3 separate regions of the Homo sapiens genome follow, and regions 1 and 2 are each linked to region 3. Evidence: promoter capture Hi-C in human tissues and cell types (Jung and others, 2019). All regions are on one chromosome and are shown on one strand. Each heading gives the region's core, a stretch centred on a gene start or on the middle of the fragment in contact. The rest is flanking DNA. Distances are from core to core; before and after follow the strand shown.

The links. Contacts are between HindIII fragments. The study calls those that stand out against the background at their distance.
Region 1: a contact is called between a fragment that was not itself captured here and the fragment with the promoter of ZNF423 in region 3, in 6 of the 25 tissues and cell types used here (H1 embryonic stem cells, adrenal gland, dorsolateral prefrontal cortex and 3 more).
Region 2: a fragment that was not itself captured here is called in contact with the fragment with the promoter of ZNF423 in region 3 in 2 of the 25 tissues and cell types used here (H1 embryonic stem cells and mesenchymal stem cells).

Annotation. Positions count from the first base shown.
Region 1 is chr16:49,755,202-49,759,457 of GRCh38, reverse strand. All of the region lies in intron 2 of ZNF423 (zinc finger protein 423), which reads left to right. Among named protein-coding and RNA genes, the nearest start is that of ZNF423, 99 kb to the left of the region's middle. RefSeq lists an enhancer at 4,189-4,256. The HindIII fragment of the contact is 3,131 bases long and covers 197-3,327 here.
Region 2 is chr16:49,921,344-49,925,481 of GRCh38, reverse strand. No RefSeq gene overlaps it. Among named protein-coding and RNA genes, the nearest start is that of ZNF423, 67 kb to the right of the region's middle. RefSeq lists silencers at 1,130-1,302, 2,285-2,468 and an enhancer at 3,145-3,876. The HindIII fragment of the contact is 3,414 bases long and covers 1,055-4,138 here.
Region 3 is chr16:49,853,616-49,857,768 of GRCh38, reverse strand. It overlaps ZNF423 (zinc finger protein 423), which reads left to right and starts at 1,657. Exons shown (of 8, transcript NM_001379286.1): 1 at 1,657-2,034. The coding sequence starts at 1,995. RefSeq lists a silencer at 2,154-2,413. The HindIII fragment of the contact is 13,140 bases long and covers 1-4,153 here.

The DNA.
Region 1 (4,256 bases), core at 513-3,012, 98 kb after region 3:
CTCTTGGGTTGCATTGCACCTAGGCAAGGGGATAGCAAGCTTTCCTTTTTTTTTTTTCTGAGGTGGCGTCTCGCCCTGTCACCCAGGCTGGAGTGCAGTGGCTCGATCTTGGCTCACCGCAACCTCCGCCTCCCGGGTTCAAGCGATTCTCCTGCCCCAGCCTCCCGAGTAGCTGGAATTACAGGTGTGCACCAACACACCCAGCTGATTTTTTGTATTTTTAGTAGAGATGGGGTTTCACCGTGTTGGCCAAGATGGTCTCGAACTCCTGGCCTCGTGATCTGCCCGTCTTGGCCTCCCAAGGTGCTGGGATTACAGGCGTGAGCCACAGCCACCATGCCCAGCCAGCAAGCTTTCCTTTTATTATTTTTTTAAAAATATGGTTTTATTGCAAAATGAAACACAGATCTAGAAACCCACAAAGTCAATGTAGAACTTAGTGAATTTTTATAAGGTGAACGCCATTGAAACCACTTCCCAGGTCTAGAAATAGAACTTTGCAAGCTACTTCGGAAGGCTTATCCTTGTTCCCCATCCCTGTTTCTCCTTCCAGAAAGAATCACTAGCTTGACTTTTATGGTGATCACACCCTTGCTTTGTTTTAAAGTTCTGTCACTCACGTGTGTACCCCTTGCCACTATAATTTAGACTTGGAGTGCCATTCTTTAAGGAACATGAGGGAGTAATTTTTTTTTGTAGTGATGATTATTTTACTTTTTTTGGAGACCACTCTGTCGCCCAGGCTGGGAGTGCAGTGGTGCCATCATAGCTCACTGCAGCTTCAAACTCCTAGACTCAAGCGATCCTCTCATCTCAGCCTCCCTAGTAGCTGGGACTGCAGGTGCATGCCACCATGCCTGGATATTTTTTAAAATTTTTGTAGAGATGGGGTCTTACTATGTGGTTCAGGTTGGTCTTGAAGTCCTGGCTTCAAGCGATTCTCCCTACTTAGCCCTCCAAGTAGCTGGAATTACAGGTGTGAGTCACCATGCCCAGCTGATTATTTTAAAAATTCTTTTGGTCAGGCGCAGTGGCTCACCCCTGTAATCCCAATACTTTGGGAGGCTGAGGGGGGTGGATCACTTGAGTCCAGGAGTTCCAGACCAGCCTGGCCAACATGACGAAACCCTGTCTCTATTAAAAATACAAAGATTAGCCAGGCATGGTGGCGGGTGCCTATAATCCCAGCTACTCGGGAGGCCGAGGCAGGAGAATCGCATGAACCCAGGAGGCGGAGGTTGTAGTGAGCTAAGATCATGCCACTGCACTCCAGCCTCGGTGACAGAGCGAGACCCTGTCTCAAAAAAACAAATTCCTTTCTAACAATTCCTGATCTGGAAGCTTCTGGTGATTAGGCTCCCGGGTAAACCATTTTCTACCTTTGGCAGGTGAAGGCGAGGCAGGAAGTGCCTACCATTTAGCAGGTGTTCACTCAGAGTTTGATGAGAGGCTGGAGATGCCAGGGATGTTTTACAGTCACCTGGGGAGGAGGTACCGCAGTCCTGAACCAGGGTGACCACAGGCAGGGGGACCAACAGTGTGGAGGGGAGGAGCCGAGGGCGGGTCAGGGGAGGATTAACATGAGGGGAAAGGAGATCCTGTGCGTCATTCTTTCTTTCCCTTTCTTTCCCCTTCAGTACACTGGGGGAAATTAATCTCCCACCTGCCACGGCAGGGAAACCTGAGTTTGCTGTTGGGGCTGTCCAGGGCACGTGGGGTGTTTGTCTTTGAGGCCTTTCTTCACCAGAATTGATGACAGGGGTGTATTTCCTGCTGAGCCGGGCTCCTCACCCCACCCAAGGGGGATTTGGAGGCAGGTGGTCACGTGTCTGGCTTGGTTTGGGTGTCCACAATAGCCTGAGGGATGTGTTGAATTTTAGAAGTTACTGACAGGTGAGTTCTATGGGAGAGGGCTATGGTGATTTTCAAATGCTGGGTCAACAGCATTCTGCAGTCCTCACCATGCAGGTGCTCCTCATGTCCTGGAAACTTAACTTCAAGCAGGTGGCTGATCAAGCCTTGCTGTTGGTAGGAGCAGGGGGCTGGCCTCCTTATTCACCTAATCTTCTCTACATGGGAACAGGATAGTGGTTTTATGACTCATTACTGAAGGCTCCCTTTGTTAGAAGTTCAGACTGTAGGAGATGTCGGTGTAGCCAGTTTTAAGCTGAGTCAGGAAGAGCATCACGAACCTATGGAATCTCCAATAGCACATGGAAACAGGAAAAAATGAGAATGGAAATTCTTGGCCTCATTTATAAATAAGCGTTGATTAAAAGTCTATTTTTTTGTCTTTGTTGTGGAGGACACAGGAGTGTTGGATTCAGTCCCAACATTGCACAGCGTAATGGAAAAGAAATAACTGTCATTGTGCATCGTGACAAGTAATTTATAAGAAAAACAAAAACACTTGCACAGGGCCAGTTGTCTATTGTGTGTTGGTGACACAAAATGGGACTTCTCACTATAGTTAGGTGGGGTTTCTGTCTTTTGGCAGGACTTTGGCTTTTAAAAGTGCCACACACTCTAGAAGAAAACAAGGAATTATGCAGCCATGTGGACATGGGTTCTGAGGCCTGTTCATGTCTGCCCCTCCCCGCGCATGCTGGCTTCCCCCCGCCATCTCGCAATGGACTTGTCCTCAGGGGTGCTCACAAGTGTCCGAACTCATCATGGGTGCTTCCCCCTGTTCTCAGCCCACCCATGACCCGTGCCTTTTTGCCCGTGTGCCCTGGGAGGTGGTGATGGTTGCCACCTCCTCCTTTCCATGCAGGTGAGAGCTGGGCTGGATGAGGTGGTCTCTTAGGTCCCTTCCAACTTGAAGCTTCCCTGGGTCCAAGCTTAAGGGATGGGCAGGGACCTTTCGAGACACGCATTTGGTGGGAAGATGCCCCTGAAAGGTGCCATGGAGTCATCTGTGGCAGTCCGGGTGCTCTTTGTCTAGGCCAGTGTTGGAACTCCGGGGAGGGGTCCAATTCCGTATCAGTGTGGCGGGGACTGGCCTTCCAAAAGGCTGTTTTCCAAGCGCTTGATGTTCATGCTGTTTTCATTCTAAGATGTGTATTTTGTCATTGCCTAACATTTCTGAAATTGGGAAGCATTTTAATGTCTGTATGTGTGTTTAATAAAATGACAGTCCCTCCAAAGAGAGAGCTGTCATTAAGATAGTGGTGGGCCACACACTTAGAGCCTCTTAGACCTCACAGGCTGTCGTAACTGGTGATAGGCGGCCTGGGCTGATGCAGGCTGCCCCCAGGATTCAAAACAGCAAGTCCGTTTTGAAAACCCTTGTCTCTGAAACCTTCCAGTCATCTCTGTGGGCTGTCATCTAATTTTGCTTAAACACTGCATTTGCCTCCCCTCCCTCACTCACAAACCTCCAGTGGCTCCCTATTTCTTCTACCTGAACCTTGGACTCAGCCTGGCTTTCAGTCTGGCCCCTGCATCATTCTTTCTGCCTCAATCAGCCACTCACCCAGTTCCTTTCCAGTAGGAAGATTTCATGATCTCCTCCGAGGCAGGGCCGTCTCTGACTCCACCGGGTCCCTAGCACAGGGTCTTCGGGTGGCAGGCATTCCGGCAACACTTGTTGGCTGATGCATTGATGTGGCTGCAGCTCAGACCTGAAGTCCTTTGGGCATTTTATTACCATCAGCATCTGGGCAGTGTAACTCGAGGATTAACAGAGTTATAGGAGAAAACTCCACTCTAAGAATGGCTAATTATTATTATTTTTTAACCAACTACAATTTACAGAGGGTTCGTAGAGGCACAAAAGAGCACACACCCTGTAAACGAGGGTTAATGAGAAAGCTTCCCGATAGCTTGTGCTTCATCAGCAACAGAACAGCGTGTAAATAAATCTAATTTCTCTCCAACTCAACTCGTCACAGGCTTAATTACCGCAGCCACAATGTGTGCATGTGTGTGTTTTTTTCATTAGCGAAAGAGGGTCATTATTAGCCATGTCTGGTAAGAATTATGATGAAGAGCCTGGCTTACCCTCGATAGGTGTCCTCAGAGAGCAGAAATGAACTTTCCTTGTGAACTAAAGAGTTCCCAATTAAGGTGGTTTGGAGGAAGCAGGAAGCGGCAAGCAGATTAGAAAAAGATTACAGAAACGGGAAAGCGGGCGAGGAGGCGGGAGGGTTCTGGTGGGCTCGGTTAATGACCGAGGGAGGAAGGTTTTCTTCTGGGGGCTGTGCCCTCTTTTCCCGCCTGCTTTGTTATTTGCTTGCCCAGAAATCCTGGGGGCT
Region 2 (4,138 bases), core at 1,512-4,011, 67 kb before region 3:
CTTGAATTCAGGTAGGGGCAGTCCTCTGACTGTGCTTTGGTATCAAGTTAGCTATTTTGGTCTTTTACCTTTTCATATAAACTTTAGAATCAGTTTATTGATATCCATAAAATAACTTGCTGGAGTTTTAACTGGGATTGCATTGAATCTATAGAATTTGGGAAGAACCGACATCTTGATACAATTAAGGCTTCTTATCCATAAACAAATAATACTACTCTCTATTATTTATTTCTTCTTTGATTTCTTTCATCAGAGTTTTTTAGTTCCTCTCATATAAATATTCTTGCATATTTTGTTAGATTTATGCCTAATTCATTCTTTTGGGTGCTAATCTAAATGGTATTGTGTTTTTAATTTCAAATTCTACTTGTTCATTGCTAGTATATAGGAAAGTGACTGACTTTTGTATAATAACCTTTATCCTGCAACCTTGCTATAATTGCTTAATTTCAAGAGGAATTTTTGTTCCATTCTTTTGGATTTTCTGCAGTCAGAACAGTTTTTTAAAACTTATACCCTACTTCTTTGCTACTAAGATCTCATCTACCTAGTGACAGATTTTGTTGGGGAATGGGTAGGAGCTGAGAGGAGAAAAAGAGCTATCCTGCTGTGAAAGGTGCTTAATAATTGTAAAACAGATACTAATTTAAGGAACTTTAAAATATCATGTGAGAAAATATGCATCATAGATCAGTCTTTTTCCTAGAAGCACAGCGCACCCTGAACTCCTTCTTAGAGTAGAAGATGCATCAGTGTTGGGGCTTCATGGGTCCAGGTTGCCAGGGGTGGGATGCCAGGAGCTAAGACCCAGGCTGTCCAGGGAGCTATGGGTGTCTGGGCAGCCCCAGATCTGCATGGGGCCAAAAGCCTGGTGTTCTGGGATTGGAGATTCAGTGGTGCAGCTCTTGTCCACCCTGGGGCCTTTTTCAAGCAGCCAGTGTCAGGGGTCTCAGTCCACAGGTTGCCAATTGGTGCTTGTACTTTTTTCTGTGTTTGAGCATAAAATATCAACTTCTAGGCATGAAAGAGCCAAACAAATGAACACACAACAACTCAAGGATAACAAAACACCACTTTTTGCAGTGGACATGTGTGGTTTCCTTCTGCAGGGATTTTCGGTTCACAGCCCTTTGGAACATCTCAACCCCAGGGACTGACTTCCCAAGCCCTGGCTACAGAGGCCGTCATGTGACTTGGGCCTGGCCAATCAGCATATTCCGTTGGCTTAGCCTTGGTGATTGGTTCAGGGATGGTCCCGTGATTCCAGCTAGTCCAATGAGAGCTCTCCTCAGGACTTCTGCCAGGACTTCCTGGGAACCCTGCAGATGTACCTTTTCTGGTGGGACTGCCAAACCCTTAGGACGTCATCCTCGAACTGGGATCGGGTAGGGAACAACCTAAGGGAGAGGATGGTGAACCTGCCTGAGAGTGAAGACACAGAGGACAGCGCAGGCAAGGAGCAGGTTCCTGATATGATTGTCTGAGGCCCTGGGTCCTGGTGCTGGAAGGCAGCCGCACCCTGGCATTTTCAGATACTAGAACCAGCGACCCCCTTTCATACTGAATCCTGTTTGACTGGGTGTTTATCACTTGACTGACATCCTCTAAGAATTGTGCAGTGGGCCGTGTGCAGCCAGCCACCTCCTTCCGGAAAGACAAACTCTCAACTCTGTCAGAAAATGGGCTGTGTCTGTGCCTCTCTCTCTTTCCTAGAACCTGAGGACCTCCCTCCTGACTCCCCACACCTGGGGCTGACCTGCACGCCCTCCGAGCCACATTACCTGCGCAGCCTTGCCTGGCGATCGTGCTGAGCAGCACCTACCTGGTACGCAGCTGCTTGAGCATCCGTCTGTCTTTCTGTCTTCTCTTCTGGAGAATATGAGTCCTGGGGAGCTGGAGCCCAATCGGTCCTCCCTCCCCTACAGGCCTGGGCACCCTACCTGGCACTTGCCCGGTGCTCTGTGAACTGAATGGGAAAAGGAAAGCAGACCAAGTCACCTGGAAAGCAGGCATGGGACGAGGAAAGATCAGTGGTCTTGGAATCCAAAAGTAAAGGGCGGCATCGTGGCACTGCAGCTCTCCGGCTATTTGCTTGGGCAAATCCTGGCTTTCATCTCCAGCTGCCTCGTCCATGGCAGAGAGATCGTGGGTCTAACCCTCGTTGTGTCACAGTGAAAGCATGCTCAGGGCCAGCATGTGGAGCTCTCACAGAGGTTGCTCCTATTCCCTGGGCTTTCGCCCAGAGCTGCGTGCTTTACACTTGCAATCCCCTCCAAACCTCCCTGCTACTGGATCCGGAAGGCTCCATTTTACAGATGAGCAAACTAGACGCAGTGAGGTTGAGTCAGTTGCTCAATGCCACACAGCTGGTCATCGAAGAAGGCTGCCCTTGAGCCCAGATCTGCTCACCCCAGAGCCCTGGGTCCTAGCTTTTAGGCTCTGGTCTCTCTGAGGCTGGAAGGGCTTCCCTGAGCAGTGGCCAAGCCAAGAGGTGGCTTAGGGGAACAGTTTTGTTGTGGTTGTAGAGTCAGGGTCTCCCTGTGTTACCCAGGCTGGTGTCAAGCTTCTGGGCAAGTGATCCTCCCACCTCGGCCTCTTAAAGTGCTGGGATTACAAGTGTGAGCCACCACACCTGGCTGGCCTAGGAAAACTTAAACCCATCTCACATCTCCCCCAGCCCCTCCAACCCCTGAGTGAAATTTATGGTTCAGGTAAAGACGGTGTGCCTGTTCTTCAGCTTCAAGACAAGCCCTCAGCCCCTGCTCCTAAGGCAGACTGCCAATCTCCTAGCCTGTCCAGCCTGCCCCTACTCAGTGAGCTGATGAGACAAGGAGTGGGGCTGGGATCCTCTGAGCCAGACCACACTTGAAGCTTCCGGAGAGCCAACACAGGGAGATTCTGTCCTGGGCTCCAGGCCTTTCTGAGACAAAGCCCCTCCATCTACATGTCTCAGTTGGTGCCTGGTCCTGGGCGGCATGCAAGGCCAGGCTGTTTCCAGTTTTGAGTGTTCCTATGTGGTAAAAATGAAGAAGCATCAACACAAATTTCCACCTTTGTAGTGTACTTACATAAATAGCTTTCACAGATTAATGCTTCTAACACACAAATGGTGTGATTTAACTATGCCAGGGTACTTAGCATATTATTTTTTAAATTGATTTATAGGTCACTGAAGGGAGGCTGGCCTGGCAATGGACCGCAAGATTCAAGGTGGAGAATGTCCCTCGTTTCCATCCTGTTTCTGTGACTTGTATATGACAGTATTTAGGGAAGGTGAAAGGCATACCTTTGTGGCTCCTGTCCTGATAAGGTGGGCAACCAATTGCCACAGTCAGGGTTGGGGAGGGGCACAGGGAGGTGGTGGAGCCCTGCACCTTCACCCCATTACCTGTGCTGGAGTTCCTGCCATCGGAGGCTTCCTGAGAATTTCCAGCCACCAGAAGGGGGCAGACGGTGACTTCTGAAGCTGGGACACAATGGGTCTGTGAGGAGGCAGGCAAGAGGGGGTGGAGGCGCCAGGCTGAAACCACCACCTCCACCACCTTGGGACAAGCTGGGCCCCCATCAGCTGGGCTTGGCTCTCCGGAAGCTTCAGGTGTGGGCTAGCTCAGAGGATCCCAGGCCCACTGCTTGTCTAGTCAGGTCACCAGATTGGGGAGGGCTTGACAGGCTAGGGGGCTGGCAGTCTGCCTTAGGAGCAGGGGCTGGGGCTGGTTTTGAAGCTGAAGAACAGGCACATTGTCTTTACCTGGACCATACATTTAACTAGGGGGTTGGAGGGGGCTGGTGGAGATTTGAGGTGGGTTTAAGTTTTCTGAAGCCAGCCAGGTGCAGTGGCTCACACCTGTAATCCCAGCACTTTGGGAGGCTGAGGTGGAAGGATCGCTTGAGCCCAGGAGTTTGAGACCAGCCTGGGCAACACAGGGAGACTCTGTCTCTACAACAACAAAAACGTTCCCCTAAGCCACCCCTTGGCTTGGCCACTGCTCAGGGAAGTCCTTCCAGCCTCAGAAACCCCCAGAGCTGCCGAATCGTCCCGCATGGAAGACAGACACAGATGCAAGTGTCTAAATGCCTTTGTGCATCCTGGTTCCAGGTGGGAGGCGCTGGGAGATGGGGGCCTCTCACTTAGAAA
Region 3 (4,153 bases), core at 408-2,907:
GAGGGGGTGCTCCTGCAAGGTCTCAGGGGTAAGGTGTTCCTTTTACAGTCGGACAGAGGAAGTGCACACCAGGCGCGAGAATTCTACAAATAAGGGTGTAGGGGGCGCACGGGGTTAGCCCAGTGGTGGAAGAATTTGTTGGATGTGGGGCAGGGGTGGTCTTTGAACACCGACCGGTGGGCAAAAGCCAACCTGGCAGAGCCAGGTCCCTGGATAGTTCATGTGCGTGAGGCATACATCGCGAGGTGGCAATACTAGGGCAGCCCAACTCCGTTTGCTCCCCCATTCTTTCACTTTTTACAGTTTGTGAGGCTCATGCGTCTTGGCGAGCTTGACAGCCGCGTGGGCCCTAAGTGTGTTCCCTCCTCCTGCCCCCGGTGCAGCCAGCGCCCGAGCCCCGGCCCCGCGTGCTGGTGCGGTGCCCGCGCCCGCGCCGTGCCTGCCGCCGCCGCCGCCGCCGCCACCACGGTCCGGGTTTTGCGGGCGGCCGGAGCTGTATTTCCAGCGCTGTCCATCGCTCGGTGCTGTTGGCCCTCTCTCCGTCTGATCCGAGCCGGAGCAGTGCGGGGCGCCCCACGGGATCAGAGCGCTCCCCCGCCGGGACTCCGCTCCTCACATCCTCCTGCTGGGACCCGGCTACATTTCCAGCCAAGCCTGGCTTTATTATGTGTCTCTGCAGTGCAGCCCCAGCAGCCGGATCGGGAGGAGGAGAGCCAGCGACCACAAAGAAGACAGGAGCGCGAGGGAGGCTGGCGGGCGGGCCGGCGCCGGCTGGAGCGCGGAGGAGCCGGGGCGCAGCCGCCGCCGCCGCTGCCCAGGAGGACGGGAGCCCGGCCGCCGCCGCCGCCGCCTGCTCGTCCTCCTCTTCCGCCACCGCGGCCGCCGCCTCCCCCCTCTCCGAGCCCCTGGCCCATGGAGGCAGCTAGCGGGGCCGGCGACTTGGCACCGGCCTGGGGATCGGCTGCGCGCCTCGCGCTGAGCACCGCAGCCCGAGGGCAGGCAGCGGCGGCCCGGCGCACGGGCTGAGCGATGCCCGGGGCACGGGCGCGCCTGCCGGCCGCCGCCTGAGCGCCCCCGCGCGCCCCTTCCTCCTCCGGGGGGCCGGCGCCGGGCCGATCCGAGAGCCAGAGAAGGGGGCGTGAGCCAGGGGCCCCGAGCCGCGGCTTCCGAGCCACTGCGGCCGTTTCGAGCCTCCCCTCCAAGTAGGCTGAGTTGAGGGACCCCCGCCCCCCATCCATCATAATCTCCAAACCAGGCGCTTGGGCATTTTTGAGCCATTAATATTTATTATTTTTTTTTGTGCGGCAGGGGATAATTCGAAGGCTTCTTTTTTTTTTTTTTCCTGGGGGGTACTGAGCTTCCGCGCTCCCGACCGCCTCCCGGTCTCCTCCCCCCTTGAGATACCCTCGACTCCAGCCCCGTTCCCCCTCCTCAGATGGGTTCATTGTGAGCTCCGCACCGGGCTGCGTGGCCGGACGCCTGCAAACTTTGCACAAAAATCCGGCAAGGGGCGGAGGAGGAGGAGAAGGAGGAGGAGGGTGAGGGTGGCGGTAGGGTGGGGGAGGGAAGGAGGGGGCCGCAGGGGCCGGGGGCCGGCGGGGGGTTGGGAGGAGGAGGGGGGCGGCTTTTTTTTTTTTTTTTTTTTTTTTTTTTTTGCATAACTCGGCTCGGCCGAGTGGCCTCCGGACTCCCCGCGCCGCTGGGACCGCCGCTTGGATCGGGAGCCCCGGACTGCCGCATTGCAACAGGCAGGGCCCCGGCGCGCCCCCCGGGCCTCCCCCCGCCTTCGAGCGGCCTCGGCCGGCCCGGGCTGCCCCCCCAAGGGAGGCCGCCCCGGACCTGCGGTCCGCTCCCCACAGCCGCCAACCGGGCTGCAAAAAAAAAAGTTTCCAAGAGACAGGCGGAGGAGAAGGGGGAGAAGGGCTGCCCGGAGCGGCGGGGGGCGGCGGGGGGAGCCGGCTGCGGAGGGCGACGGAGCGCCCGGAGCCCCGGACATGTCCAGGCGGAAGCAGGCGAAGCCGCGCTCGGTGAAAGGTGAGCGAGCGAGGCCCGGCGGAGGCGCGAGCGAGCGAGCGAGGAGGGAGGGAGCGAGGGAGGAGGGACCGGCGAGCGGGCTGGCTGCCGGGGACCCGCGCGAGCGAGCCGAGAGGAGGAGGAGGAGGCGGCAGAGGAGGCGGAGGCGGAGGCGGAGGCGGAGGAGGGGGAGGAGGAAGCCGGGAGCAGGAGGCGGAGGCGGCGGCGGCGGCGGCGGCGGCGGAGGGGGTACGCCGCGGACACCCTCCCTGCCCGGACTCGGCGCCGTCGCCCTTGGGGGACCCAGGCCTGGGGGCGCCGCTAAGGGGCCCTTGCCGCTCCCTCCGTGCGGGGCCCGGGCCCGTGTGGCCAATCAAGGGGTGCTGGCCCGACTTGGCGGGGATTGCGAATCTCGGCGGCGGCGGGCGGGCGACAGGAGGAAGGAAGAGGCGGCGAGGACGGGCGCCCGGCAGGCCGACCGCTCCTCGCTGGCCCCGGGCCTCGCTGGCTCTCTCTGGCCCCTGCCTGGTCGCCCGAGGACGCGGGGAGCGGCGGGCGCTGTCGGCGAGCGCCCCGGGCGCCGCGCCCTCGCCCCGGCCGCCTGGCGCCCCCTCCCGCCCCTGCCCAGGCCTTCTCCCGGCCCGGGCCCCTGCACTTCCTGCCTCCTCCACCGAGGCCCACCGGGCAGGGAGCCTCCGCCAGGAGTTCATTGTCTGCACGGCGCCGGCGGGACGCAGGTCCTCAGGGGAGCTCAGCGGCCGCGGTGCGCGCCCCTCCGCGGAGGGCGCCCCGGATCTGACCCCGGGCACCGGCACCCTGGATCTGACCCCGGGCACCGGCACCCTCGACACCCAGGCCGGCTTTCTGTGCTGGCTCCCCGGGGTGCGCGCGTTTGTGGGGAGCTGCAGATATATAGATACACACACCCATCCCTTCGTCTCCACGCTTTGCTTTCTATTTCCAGCGAGGGCCCCCAGCTCGAGGGGACCCCTGGAGAGTAGAGGCCCCGGGGAAAGGCCGCGCGCCGGCAGCAGAGCCCCTCCCCTGGCCTCCTCTCCCCGCGGCTGGCCTTTCCAGGCCTTGCCTGCTGCTTTGTCCCGATTCTAGCCCCTCGGTTGGGTGCCCGGGCGCTCGGCTGTGAGATGGGAGATGATCGAGGAAGGGGGGAACGATGAGAGCGGCTAAGTCTACGGAGCCAAAAGCCCCCAGGCCCTTGTCTTCTCCCATCTCCCCTGATGACCTCTGGCCTGAGCCCAGTTCTGCTCTGAAAAGTTCATTTCCTGGAGGCCTGCGCGGGAAGGCGCTGGGGCCCCGCTCCCTTCCTGCCAGCCTTGCGCCTGGCTGGAATGGCTGGAACTGAATCTGGCAAGGAGGATCTTGAGACACTCGTCAGTTCTGTCCTCCTGAAGTCCCCGGAGGGACTGCCCCCGGCCCAGCAGAGATCCTCCCCGTCATATTAGAAGGAGACCAACTGAGTCCAAACGGAGCGCCCGGCCCGTTCCTACTCCTCCTTTTCCCTGAGAGAAGTTGGTCTTGTTCGCCTCACCCTGGCTGGTCTCCCAATCCGGGACAGCCTGGCCTGCTCCACAGAACTGGGGGTTCAGAGGGTGTTCTGATTGGGGGACAGGGAAACCAGAAGAGAGACTCCAAGAAGAGGACGGGAAAGAAGGGTGGATGTTTCTCTTTTGCTGATGGAAGGGCTGTACGGCTTGAAATAATACTGGATTTCTTTTCTCTTTCCCTGGCTCACTGCTCACTCCTTCAGGAGCCACTTAAGAGGCGACCCAGAAGAAAATGTGGAATTGGAATTTCTGGTTGGAAAAACAGTTTTATTTAACTCAGGCAGTTGATTTTGAGTTTGCAAAGCTTGCTTACCTAGACTTCCAATCCACTTCTCCAAACCTCCTTACGTTAGACGGCGAGACCCAGAAAGCAAAAGGAGAGCAGTTTGCAGTGAACAGATGGGTGGGTGTTTCAAAGTTGCTTGAACCGAGTTCTAAAACCACTCTGTGGATCTCTGAGAAGGACTCAAGAATTGGTCTTCAGCCTTTCATGAAATGAGCCTTGAAATGATTTTTAGTGAGTGCCTCTCTCAAATGTGTATGTGTGTATGTGTAGCAGACAGTTCAAGCAGGTTGGT